Regions from separate parts of the Homo sapiens genome. Here region 2 is linked to region 1. The links are contacts of gene promoters, found by promoter capture Hi-C in blood cells and fetal thymus (Javierre and others, 2016). All regions are on one chromosome and are shown on one strand. The core of a region is centred on a gene start or on the middle of the fragment in contact, and the rest is flanking DNA. Distances in the headings are between cores, read along the strand shown.

Region 1 (5,628 bases), core at 916-3,415:
GGGGAAATAGTTTCTTGCCCTTGAAATGTCTGGTTAATAACCATCAGAGACACATCAAAAACTAGTGTCCAAATAAGGCATCTTGAAGCCCAGCTTGGTTGTTCTTCTCCCTCCTGTGTGTGATCAGTTGAGTTCTGAAGTCCTAGCCCGTCTCACTGCCATTCCACACCATGTAGAGCCCGTGTCCTCATTCTGGACTTTACAATTGGTTTCCTGATCACAGAGCTGAGCTCTATGGAACATGATGAATGGGAGAGAGGTGGAAAAGAAAGTCTTTTTTATAAAAACACAATGGCAGCACGAATTAATTGTTAATAGCCGAAAGGTAAGCTGAACTCATCTAATACTGTGTACTTCTCCTTGGAGATCGTGCGTATATGTGCTATAGGGGCTCTGAGTCTAAGGAAGCGGACTTGATGTGTCCAAGTTTATGCTCAATTCAGAGGGGGCATGGGACACATTTTGAGGTTCTGCACAGTGGATGCTGTGGCTGATGACTCCTGTGTGGGAGTCTCTCCTCACCCAGGCTGTCACCCACCCAGATCACAGTCCTGCTTCTTTCTATACAGGTGCTGCACTGTAAAGTATAGCGTTTCTGAAAACATGATCCTTGAAGCCCACGTCTAACACCCCTCTGCTCGTTTGGGACTCACACTGGTTCCCGAGCTAGTGAAGGAGGTTATCGGCTTTCGGAGCCTCTTTAGGTCCTGTTTACATGGCTAGCTGAAGGCAGGAGAGCAATTCATTCTCCCTATCTGTAAAATGTCAGCACCTTTTCTAGATTTGTTTTCAAGATGAAATTTCCTTTTCCCCTACTGAATACACTTGGGGATTTTTTTTTTAAGGTTTGGGGAATTCATTCTGCAACTTAAAAGGCTTTGTTTGCCCAGAGTCTGCTGGCAGATTCCCTTGTCCTCTCCACTAATCTTGATGACCATCATTATTTATCCCTAATTCCTTCAAATGCAGAGTTAGGCCTCCAGCTGCAAATTGGGAGCTGGGTCTTGGAAGAAGAGCTAGAAAAGTGATAGGAGGGAGCCCAGCTGAGATAACAGGACTGACTCTCAGTCCATTGGGTTTGGTTTTGTTGACAGAAAGGATAAGGGTGGCCTCTTCCCCCTGCTTTTCTTTCCCTGTTGCTATACTTACAGATATATTAGCATCCTGTTTGCCCACATTTAGCTTTATTTTTTCATCAAGAGCCTCTCTAGGAAAGTAGTAAAGGACTGTTGTCACTTTGACAGCTCCCCTGTCGCCTTTCTATCGTCTGGTGCTCCACCCCACTGGCTAGGCTACATCTCCTGCCCTCATTCTGTCCCCTCATCCCCTCAGCTCTCCCTACTCCCCAAGGCATCATACTTGACTTGGGGATCCCAGTGGGTTTGTGCCTCCCCTGAAATTACAGGCAAAATGTTGCATTATGTGGGTTGGAGCATCTTTCTGAAGAGAGGGGTCCATAGTTTTTAGTCAAATTCTCAAAAGGAGTCATGAATCAGAATACGTTGAAGAACTACTTGCCGTAAGCAGCAACAATGACTGAATTTTCAAGCCCAGCCATTGTGTGGGCTCTTCCAGCCTGTCTCCAGCTGCAACTGCCCACCCAACCTCTGCATAGAACCAGGCCTTCATCCCTCTTATGGGGCAATGAGGTCCATCTCCACTAGGCGATGGGACTACAGCTGGTGCTGACTTCAGACTGGCTTCCCCAGCCACTCAGCAGGGCTGGCCTGGCCCCTGAAAGTCGCTATCATTCACTCATCCTGTGCCAAACACCATCGAGACCATACATCTGAGGCCAACATATCTTTCAAAATCTCATAAAAATGAGGCAAATGGGGCTAAAATAGCATTACCCACACTACTGATTCCCTCATATCATAAAGATAAGGGATGTAACCTTTATAACACAGCACAGCTGGCTATTTTAATCATGTGTTTGGGTCTTTTTCCTAAGAAAAGGGGTGTTTATGAACTTGCTTGATTATGGTCATATCACCCTTCCTTCTGAACTCAGCAGAAGACAAGGGTTAACTTGTGCCACATAGAAGGGAGCTAAAACCTAGAGTAAACGTGGACTTGCCCGAAAACTCACCCAGGAGGAGAACAAGCTGACCTTCAATGCCTGTCCTGGCCAGAGACTCTTGTGCACTTTGCATTTTCAGTCTATGCAACAGTTGGGCAGGGTGTCTTTCTCAGTGAGCAAACTGAGGCTCACCAAGGGTCAGCTGCCTTCCAGGCCCCACAGACAGTAGGTGTAGATCTGGTGTTGGGGCTCCACCCTGCACAGTGAATTACAACATGAAATATCCTGGCAGGACTCAGTGGTCTGGCTCTGAAACCTGTTCCTTTCCACAGCCTGACACAGCCTCCCCGGGCAGTGAATTACCATGGTGGGGCCCGCTCCCAGAGTGATCCAGACCTCCCTGAGTAACAGTCCTCCCTGTGGGGAGGTCCTTCTGCACGTGGGACTCAGTAACCCCTTTCCTCTCATTCCAACCCAGATGAGCAGTGAGGAAACTAAGTCCTTCCTAGGCCAGAATCCCATGAGAGGACTCAAAAAACACCTTAGCCCCTCACTGGCTCATCCAGTCATTCTCAACTCAGGCCTCCTGTCCCCAGCCACCCTGGCCAGGGCATCCAGCTTTTGGTACCAGTGAGACCAGGGCTTTGTGACCACAGAGGGTCATGCATGATTGTGATGGGAAGGGACACTCCAGTGGGTACTCATGCCATCACTCAGTCATTCAACTAATATCTGAGTGCCCACTCTGTGCCAGGCACTGCCATAGGAGCTGGTTTTAAAACAGTAAATGAAGTAGGAAAAGTTCCAGCTTTTGGGACTTTTCTAGTGGGAAAGAGGCAGTAATGCAGGTGAACAGCTGTGTCATATCCTCAGGTAATGTCACCAGCTATGAAGAAAGCAAAGCAGGGTAATGGGGGAGAGAATACCATTTTTGGAGGGGGTGGTCACTGAGGCCCCTCTGAGGAAGGAACATTTGAACAGAGACTGAAGGAAGCAGGGAAGGAAGAGGGACAAGGTGACAACAAGAGCATAGCCCTGAGCTGAGGACACTGTGCTTAAGGCGTTTCAGGAGGCAGGAGGCCAGGGTGGTGGAGCCATGAGCAAGGGGCAGGATGGTAGGAAGTGAGGTTGAGGAGGACCGTGGACCAGATCCAGGCAGTGTTGGCTAGGACAAAAAAAATGAGATTTTATTCTAAGTGTTATGGGCCAACACTGGACATTTATGAAGGATCACTCATGTCCATGTGATGACCAGACCCAGGATGAGTCAGAGGGAAAGCAGGGAGCACAATGGGGGGTTGCCACAATAGGGACAGGAAGTGATCAGATTCATAACCTCTTTGGCTGTAGAGCTGATATGAGTTGCTGGTGAGCTGGGTATGGAGAGAGAGAGAAGTTAAAGATGACTCAGTTTTCATGGGGGAGTGAAGACCAATGGTGGGGCTGGGGGGCACGATCAAGAGTTTAGTGCATGTGAAGTTTAAGATTGCTATTTGACCTCTCAAGCGGTCCTGTCACATAGGCAGGTGTTTAGGTGAACCTGGAGTTGAGGGGGAGGTCAGAGTTGGAGGTGGGATACAGGGAGCCATCCACACACAGAGGCCATTCACTGCCCTGGGGTTGAATGAGGTCCCTGGAGAGTACAGAGGTGGCTATAAGAAGAGGGAGAGAGAGAGAGGCAGGGGCAGGACAGGGGCCTGCGAAGAAGACTAAGAAGGAAGTACTCCAGTGAGATGGGAAGAAACCCAGGAGATGGGGGTGTCCCAGAAACCAAATGCTAAGAACTTCAAAAAGGAAGGAATGATCAAGATTAGTGTGCCAGGCCAGGTGTGGTGGCTCACACCTGTAATACCAACACTTTGAGAAGCAGGTGAATTGCTTGAGCCAGGAGTTCAATATCAGCCTGGGCTACATGGTGAAACCCTGTCTCTACAAAAAATACAAAAGTTGCCTGGATGCTGTGGGGCATGCCTGTAGTCCCAGCTACTCAGGAGGATGAGCCAGGAGGACAGCTTGAGCATGGGAGGTTGAGGCTACAGTGAGCCAAGATTGTACCACGGTACTCCAGCCTGTGGGACAGAGGGAGACCCTGTCAAAAAAAAAGAAGAAAGGAAGAAAAGGAAGAAAGGGAAGGAAGGAAGGAGGGAAGGAAGGAAAGGAAGGAAGGAATGAAGGTAGGAAGGAAGGAAGGAAGGAAGAAAGGAAGGAAGGAAGGGTCAGGTGCTGCTGCCAAATAAAGATGAGCCTGAGCACTGGCTATTGGGTTTGCCAACATTGAGGTCATTGGTGACCTTGCAAGAGGGCTTCAGGGGAGTGATAGTAACAATAGCCTCATCTCAGGCAAACAGAGACTGAGTCACCTGCTCAAGGTCACCCTAACTAGCAGAGTGGGAAGTTAAACCCAAGCCTTGGTGCCTAACCACTGTGATCCACTGTTATCTTGGCCCCTGGGCACTTCTGATTATTGCTGAGCTGATTTTGATCCACCCCTCCTTTCTTGGCCTCAGCCCTGCCATATTACTAAGTCTGCTCCCACCCCCACATTTATTTATTTATTTATTTTGAGACAGAGTTTCACTCTTTTTGCCCAGGCTGGAGTGCAGTGGCATGATCTCGGCTCACTGCAACCTCTGTCTCCTGGATTCAAGCCATTCTGCTGCCTCAGCCTCCCAAGTAGCTGAGGTTACAGGCACCCGCCAACACGCCCAGCTAATTTTTGTATTTTTAGTAGAGAAGGGGTTTCACCATGTTGGCCAGTCTGGTCTCAAACTCCTGACCTCAGGTGATCCACCCGCCTCAGCCTCCCAAAGTGCTGGGATTACAGGCGTGAGCTACCGCGCCTGGCCCACATTTATTCTTTAAATCATCACAGACAACTAACGGGTATTATGTGAAACTAAATAAAATTGCTGTTTTTGTAGGTCAAAAACACTTCAATACTGGCGAATGGTGTAGTTCAACCTGATCTGAGCATACAAAGTACTTAGCACCGTGCATACATGGAGTCAATACCCAGTAAATGTCAGCCATCACCTTACGACTTGGCCACACCTCCCTCACTCTTCTATTGAGGTGATGTTATTTCGGTTTTCCTTGTGAGGAAGCTCAGACTCAGAAAAGTTCAGGAACTTGCCCAGGGACTCACAACTCCTAAGCAGCAGAGCCAGAAAGCGCAAGCATCCTGATCTCTCTTCCTTACTACGCTAGCACACTGCTTGCACTCAGTCAGAGAGAGAGGCCAGCAAGGAGGGATGAGCCAACCCAGGGAGAGGCTGGAGCCCAGCCCCTCTGCCCTGCCCCACTGGGGGCCCCTAGAAGCTGGACCCCTCCCAGAAGCTTCCCAAGACCTCATGCCCCCTGCGTGGGGTCAGAGTTCAGGGAACCAGCCTCTTGGGGGAGATTAAAAAAAAAAAAACGCTGCCCAGAGAGCTTGAGTCCAGAGCCCAGGAGTGGGAGGGGTGAGGCATTGTCTATATAAGGACACATTTTCCTCTCAATGTAGAGGCCCCCCACTTCCTCACACCTCCATCTTCCTCCCCCACACTTCTTTGGGGACACAAGCAAAGGACTTCAGCCTTGGGGGCCTAGATCTAGAAATGGAGTTT
Region 2 (5,628 bases), core at 1,838-4,337, 38 kb after region 1:
GTGGTGGCTCACACCTGTAATCCCAGCAATTTGGGAGGCTGAAGCGGGTGGATCGCCTGAGCTCAGGAGTTCAAGAGTAGCCTGGGCAACATGGCAAAACCCCATCTCTACTAAAAGTACAAAAAATTAGCTGGGCATGGTGGCATGCGCCTGTGGTCCCAGCTACTCAGGAGGTTGAGGCAGGAGGATCGCTTGAACCCAGGAGGCAGAGGTTGTAGTGAGCCAAGATTGCACCACTGAACTCCAGCCTGGGTGACACAGTGAGACTCCGTCTCAAAAAAAAAAAAAAAAAAAAAGAATTAAAGAATATAGGATAAGAAAAAGTTGGGGGTTAGGAGAAGGTGGAGGGACATCAAGGGAAGAGAGCTCTTGGAGACAGGAGAATGTAGAGTTGTGAGGCAGATGGTAGAAGACTCAAGTATCAAAGGAGACTGAGCTCCACATGCAGAATGTCACTTGAAAACCAAAACTGATCAGTAGGTGAGAATGTATTTGACTTCTTCTAATTACAAGGAATTAGAAATCAAGTGAGGCAAATAGTGAACCTGAGCAAAGCTCAGAAAGCGAGAAAGCGAGCAGGCCTGGCATCACCAGGGAGCTAGAGCCATCGTGAGTATGGAAACTGTCATCTGATTCAATGACCCTGTTTAGTTTTGAAAAAAAAATTGAAAATTAGGTACAAAATAGGTATTAAAATTTTACTTTCAATTAAACAAGGGCTCCAGAAAGAAAGAAAGTTAGGGTACCAATGGGAAACATACCAACTTTACAATTTTATGCTAGCAGCTGTGTGTCAGGCGGCCTTTACCCGTTGAGCCATGTCAATATGCATAGAGCAGGTCTCCTTGAGAGCTATGGTGCAAGTCACGGAGACGTGATGCCTGCTCCTGGGACAGCTTTCGCAGGGATCCCAACCACTAGCCACTCCCAAATGTCTGTCAGGGGACACTGAGTAACAAAACTGCCATCACTGTCTTCTTACACACACACACACACACACACACACACACACACACACACACAACATCCCTCTGAAATGAGCAGAGTGGGGGCTGCATAGAGTGTGGGTCCCAGGGGGGCAATCAAGTTCCAGTCTGTGGTGTTAGGATGTTACTTGGAAAAGTGACAGGAAAAGGAGTAAGATTGCAGTGTGAAGATGTTCATTGGCTGGAAAGGAAATCATCCAGGTCTGTGCTATGGTGTAAAGAGGGAGAGACTGGAGAATCCCCGACTAACCCCAGGCAGCAGGACCAGAGGCCACGGGAGCTACAAGGTGTGGCCCCCAGGGGTCTAGGACAGCTGCTCCCAGGGCTGTGTGGAGACTCTGCCAGGAGGAAGAGCTGTGACTGCCTGTCTGGGGCAAGTGGCCTCTCCCTTGTTCCCTGCCATCAGCCCGCTGAACCCTCTCTGGGCCTTCAGACTCCCCTCCCCTGCTGCCACCCCTCCCAGCTGGGAATAGACAAAGGGCAATGTTGAAATCACTTGAAATCCAGAGGAGGAGTCCAGTCCACCCAGGGCTTCCAGACAGGAAGCTACTCCCCAGCTGAGGCTGGCTGGATTACCAAGGGGGAGGAGGAAGAGGGCAGAACAGTTGGCAAGTGTTAGGCCTCAGGGCAGAGGACTCTGGTTGAGGGGATTCCAGGCAAAAGTCCTCCACGGTCTGCTCAGATGCTTGTTAGTTATAAAGCTTCATAGGCCATCCCTCTGCTGAAGAGGGAAATGGCTCTCAGGGAAGTGGCGTGTGTGTTCACGCACGTGTGTGTGTGTGTGTTGGCAGAGAGGTGGGATCAAGTGACAGGTCATTGTAGGTCATTTCTGTGGAGCAGATGGGGTGGGATCATATTAAAAAGGCAGTGCTGATTAACCCACACTCCATGAAGCCCGGCTAATGTTGGCTCTGACCTTCACCACTACCACCACAGCCACTGCCACTCCTGCCTCTCGCTCTTCTACTTCATTCTCATGCCTCATTTGCATCCCTGTTGGTACCCTAGCCCTCATCCCACATCCACTCACCATGTGTTCTGTGCCCCTCCTGTGTTCTAGGCACTGCCATGGGCACTGGGGATACACTGGGGGACAAAGCATGGGTTCCCCGTGGAGCTCCAGTGGCTTCTCTATGCCAGAGCCACTCCTAAGACTAGGGTCCCTGAACTGACAATGTACTCCCAAACCCAAGTGCACAGAGCCAGAACCTTACCACAGCCCCGCTCCCTCCCAGCCCAGCCAGGTCTTGAACTGTACTCCTCCTCAAATCCTGCTGTCACTCAAATCCACTCCATCCCTGCTCCTTACCCTAATTTGTTCTAGTCTGTATAATTGTTAGCAAAACAGCTACTGTGACTGAGGCTTCTTGCAGAACTGGAGCCTCCTTGCAACCCCCAGGACAGTTCGAGATATAAAGCCTGTACCGCTCCCATCCCAGGCTGCAGCTACGCCCTGGCCTCAGAGGCCGTCTCCGGGGCGGGGGTGCCCTCTAGTGTTCTCTGGGTGTGCAACAGTCCTTGGCTGCAGGAAGGGACAATTCTCTGTCCAGGGGACTGACTGGACTTGTGCCATGTGAGGGTCCTGAGCACTCAGCTGATCCTCTCCCAAACACTCCAGGGTAACGAGACTCTCATCTGTTTGCAGAAATATCTCAGAACCATCTTCCAAATAGCCTTCCACTTAGCTCATGGATCTCATAGCTCATTCTGAACAGATTTTTTTTTTTTTTAAGTTCAGTGGAAGACCCTTCCCTAGTGGAAAGATGGAAACCAGTTCACCTTTCTCAACAACCCTTTATGCACCAAGAGCTCTGCTAATTGAACTGTGGTCTTTCCTCTACTTCTCTCTCACTCCTCCCCTTGTGGTCAAATAGAAGAGAGGCAGGACAAGAAGGGAAAAGCAGAAGGGGATGTAGCAGCCTGGAATCTTTCTCTTTTTTAAAGAGATCGGGTCTCACTCTGTTGCACAGGCTGGATTTGAACTCCTAGACGCAAGCATTCCTCCCGCCTCAGCCTCCCGAATAGCTGGGACTACAGGCACTTGCCACTGCTCCCTGCTTAGTCCGGACTCTTGATCCGAGTTTCCTGCAGCATAAAGGAACACAGTGCACTAGAAAGAGGGGCTGGAATTCCTTGAGAATGATCTAGGTCCTTCCCCCAGAGCATTAGCATGAGAATCAGATCTGCCACAGACCTCTGGGGTGAGAGGCGAAGGTGAGGCATGGATGTGGGCTCATGAGTGAGGCCAGAGGCTGGCCCTGTGGCTGTCTACCTGGACTCACAGTGACAGGCAGGGGCCAGCTCTAGGACTGGATGCCCCCTTCAAGGCACGCAGGGAAAGCCTCCTGCTGCCGGGCCATTGGCAAGACTGCTTCTCCTGACACCAGGCCAGGAAAGCTGCCCTCTCCTTTCCCTCTCACTCTGCTGCTTGGAATACACTGGTCTCCATGCCACGCCGGGAAAATGTGGCACAGGAACAAGAAATAAAGGATGACTCAACTGGTGAACCACTATATCAGGCAGCAGCACCACAGGTCAAGACAGGGGCCTCCCTGACAGTAAATAGGATGATTCTGTGTCGAAGACCTAGTCCAGTGACTGGTCCACCTGGTGTCCCATCACTCATTGACTCCAATATTGTTGCTTCTCTTAAAACCCTGTTTATAATATCATCACTGAACTAACCTAAATGTCTATTGAACATACTTATTATTCTAGTGGTACTTCTCATGTGTGAGTTCCATATCCCTCCAGCCTTCCTCCTACGTGAGGTAGAACACTAAATGGTTCCCCCAAGATGCAGTAGTCATGAGTTGATGAAAAGTCTGAAACTCTCATCTCATCCTTGGCGATTGTGTGATTCTCTTTAAAGTCATGTCCATTTTAGACTTCTTTCCCAACCTCAGAGGCCTCACCTTTTCTGATTAAGACATAGCCCTTCCCTTCAGTGGTCTTGCTTGCCACCTCCAGCTCCATTGTGGCTTTTGGACTGCCGACAGCCAGAGCTCCAGGGCAGGCACCCAGGGCGCTCTCAACAGCTACCCAGTACTCACCCCTGTTTGGGGCCCATGCACACTTTGCCCTGTGACAGCATCTGACAGCCCAAGCAGTAGATTGAGGAGCTGCTGTTTCTGTCTTGGGTATTAACTATGGACTTTAGGGTTCACCACCCTAAAAGGTAGAATGATCAGATTCTCCTGAACACTAACTCCATTCCTGGCTTCTAGTTGCATTGCTCTCAGGTCATCCTTTCCACCTGTGAATTGGACAATGCCACTCTTAACTCTCCAACATGTGGATTTAGGAATATTGACCAGTTAGGCCCACATCCCGACAGTAACCGTGAAACCCACCTCTGATACTTCAGCTAGACTATCTGGGTGTCCCTGTCTATCTCATCCTTTTTTATTTTTCCATGGCAGCTTCCTTTCTGTGATAAAATATACTTTCCAATCCCATTCATGTTTAGTTTTAGTCTTTTTTTAAAAAAACTAAGCTTTGTCAGCAGCATTTTAAGAACTCTAAACACACTCACACTCACACTCACACCGGTACACCCGCACTCACACTCATATGCCCACTCTCTCTCACACACACACACATACACACACACTCACACTTTAAAAATCCTTTTCCTCCCTCTATGCTTTCTCTCCTGTCTTTGTTTTGCTTCCTTGGGAAACCTCCCATTCATTGTCCAGCTGTCAGCCAGGACGCAGCCCAGACGATGGCTGAGGAACACACAGCACATGACGAAGCGTGGCATCCAGAGCTAGCCAGGGCCAGAGACATCAGGTGCAACCCTTCCTCTTACAGATGGGGAAACCAAGGCCCAGGAAGGGAAAGGCAATCAGCCAAGGTCAGGAAGCCAGAGTGGCTCGATTGTCAACAAACAAACCTGTATCGAGGCAAAGGAAGGCCTGGAGCTCTGAAGTGGGCGTGCTGTGCTGGATGCCCCCCTGTTCCGGGGAACCCCTCCTGTTCCCCGGACCCTGTTCACTCCTGACACGGCCATGGGAGCAGCTGGCATGACTGTGTCCCTCCCTGCCCTGCCTCACAAATACCTATTGGTTTCATTTGTGTGACATCACTCACGCCTTCATTGTATTCCATCATTTCCTGTAAGACGCAACTCAAAGGCTATTTCTTCTAAGAATAATTGCTCTCACTTACAATTGCACCATTTTGTGTCACCCTCCTCTGTTGTGTATTCACTTTGAACCATGGTGATATGTGCGTGATTATGGTACACTTTGTAAATTGTTACTTCAAGTATATATGTTTTTGCCTCTTGAACTAAATTATAAGCTATAAGAAAGGAGAGACCATGCCTTCTGTGTAATATGTTTTGAATGCCCACAATAACTGGCATTCAAGATGCTTGGTCCAGTGCTGGGATGCCGTCAACAATGTTCAATGAATGGCTACATGGATTTGACACTAGAAGCAGTTATAAGTTGCTGACTTTTGAGCCAGGGCAGAAAGAGACTGTCACAGTTGTGTGTAGGTTCTGAAAGTCAGAAAGGGTTGGATGAGATGTGGAGAAGGGTATATCTGGGGACCATGAGGCTAGAGAGGATGGGACAGAGGGGAGACCTGGTGGAGAAGTGGAGCTGAGTGGAGGGAGGAGGCTGGCACCTGC

What was found. The method cuts DNA at HindIII sites, captures the fragments that hold promoters and counts their contacts. A CHiCAGO score of 5 or more calls a contact.
Region 2: a contact is called between a fragment that was not itself captured here and the fragment with the promoter of MYLK-AS2 in region 1, in 2 of 17 cell types (megakaryocytes and endothelial precursors). The highest score is 6.4, in megakaryocytes.

The regions. Positions count from the first base shown.
Region 1 is chr3:123,686,181-123,691,808 of GRCh38, reverse strand. MYLK-AS2 (MYLK antisense RNA 2) reads right to left here and starts at 2,165. Exons shown (of 3, transcript NR_046629.1): 1 at 2,093-2,165; 2 at 1-232. All of the region lies in intron 19 of MYLK (myosin light chain kinase), which reads left to right. The HindIII fragment of the contact is 6,889 bases long and covers 1-5,361 here.
Region 2 is chr3:123,649,382-123,655,009 of GRCh38, reverse strand. The region is part of intron 24 of MYLK (myosin light chain kinase); the gene reads left to right. LOC124909421 (a long non-coding RNA gene) reads right to left here. Exons shown (of 2, transcript XR_007096038.1): 1 at 4,885-5,628. Among named protein-coding and RNA genes, the nearest start is that of MYLK-AS2, 37 kb to the left of the region's middle. RefSeq lists enhancers at 798-1,298, 4,427-4,926, 4,927-5,428. The HindIII fragment of the contact is 2,795 bases long and covers 1,690-4,484 here.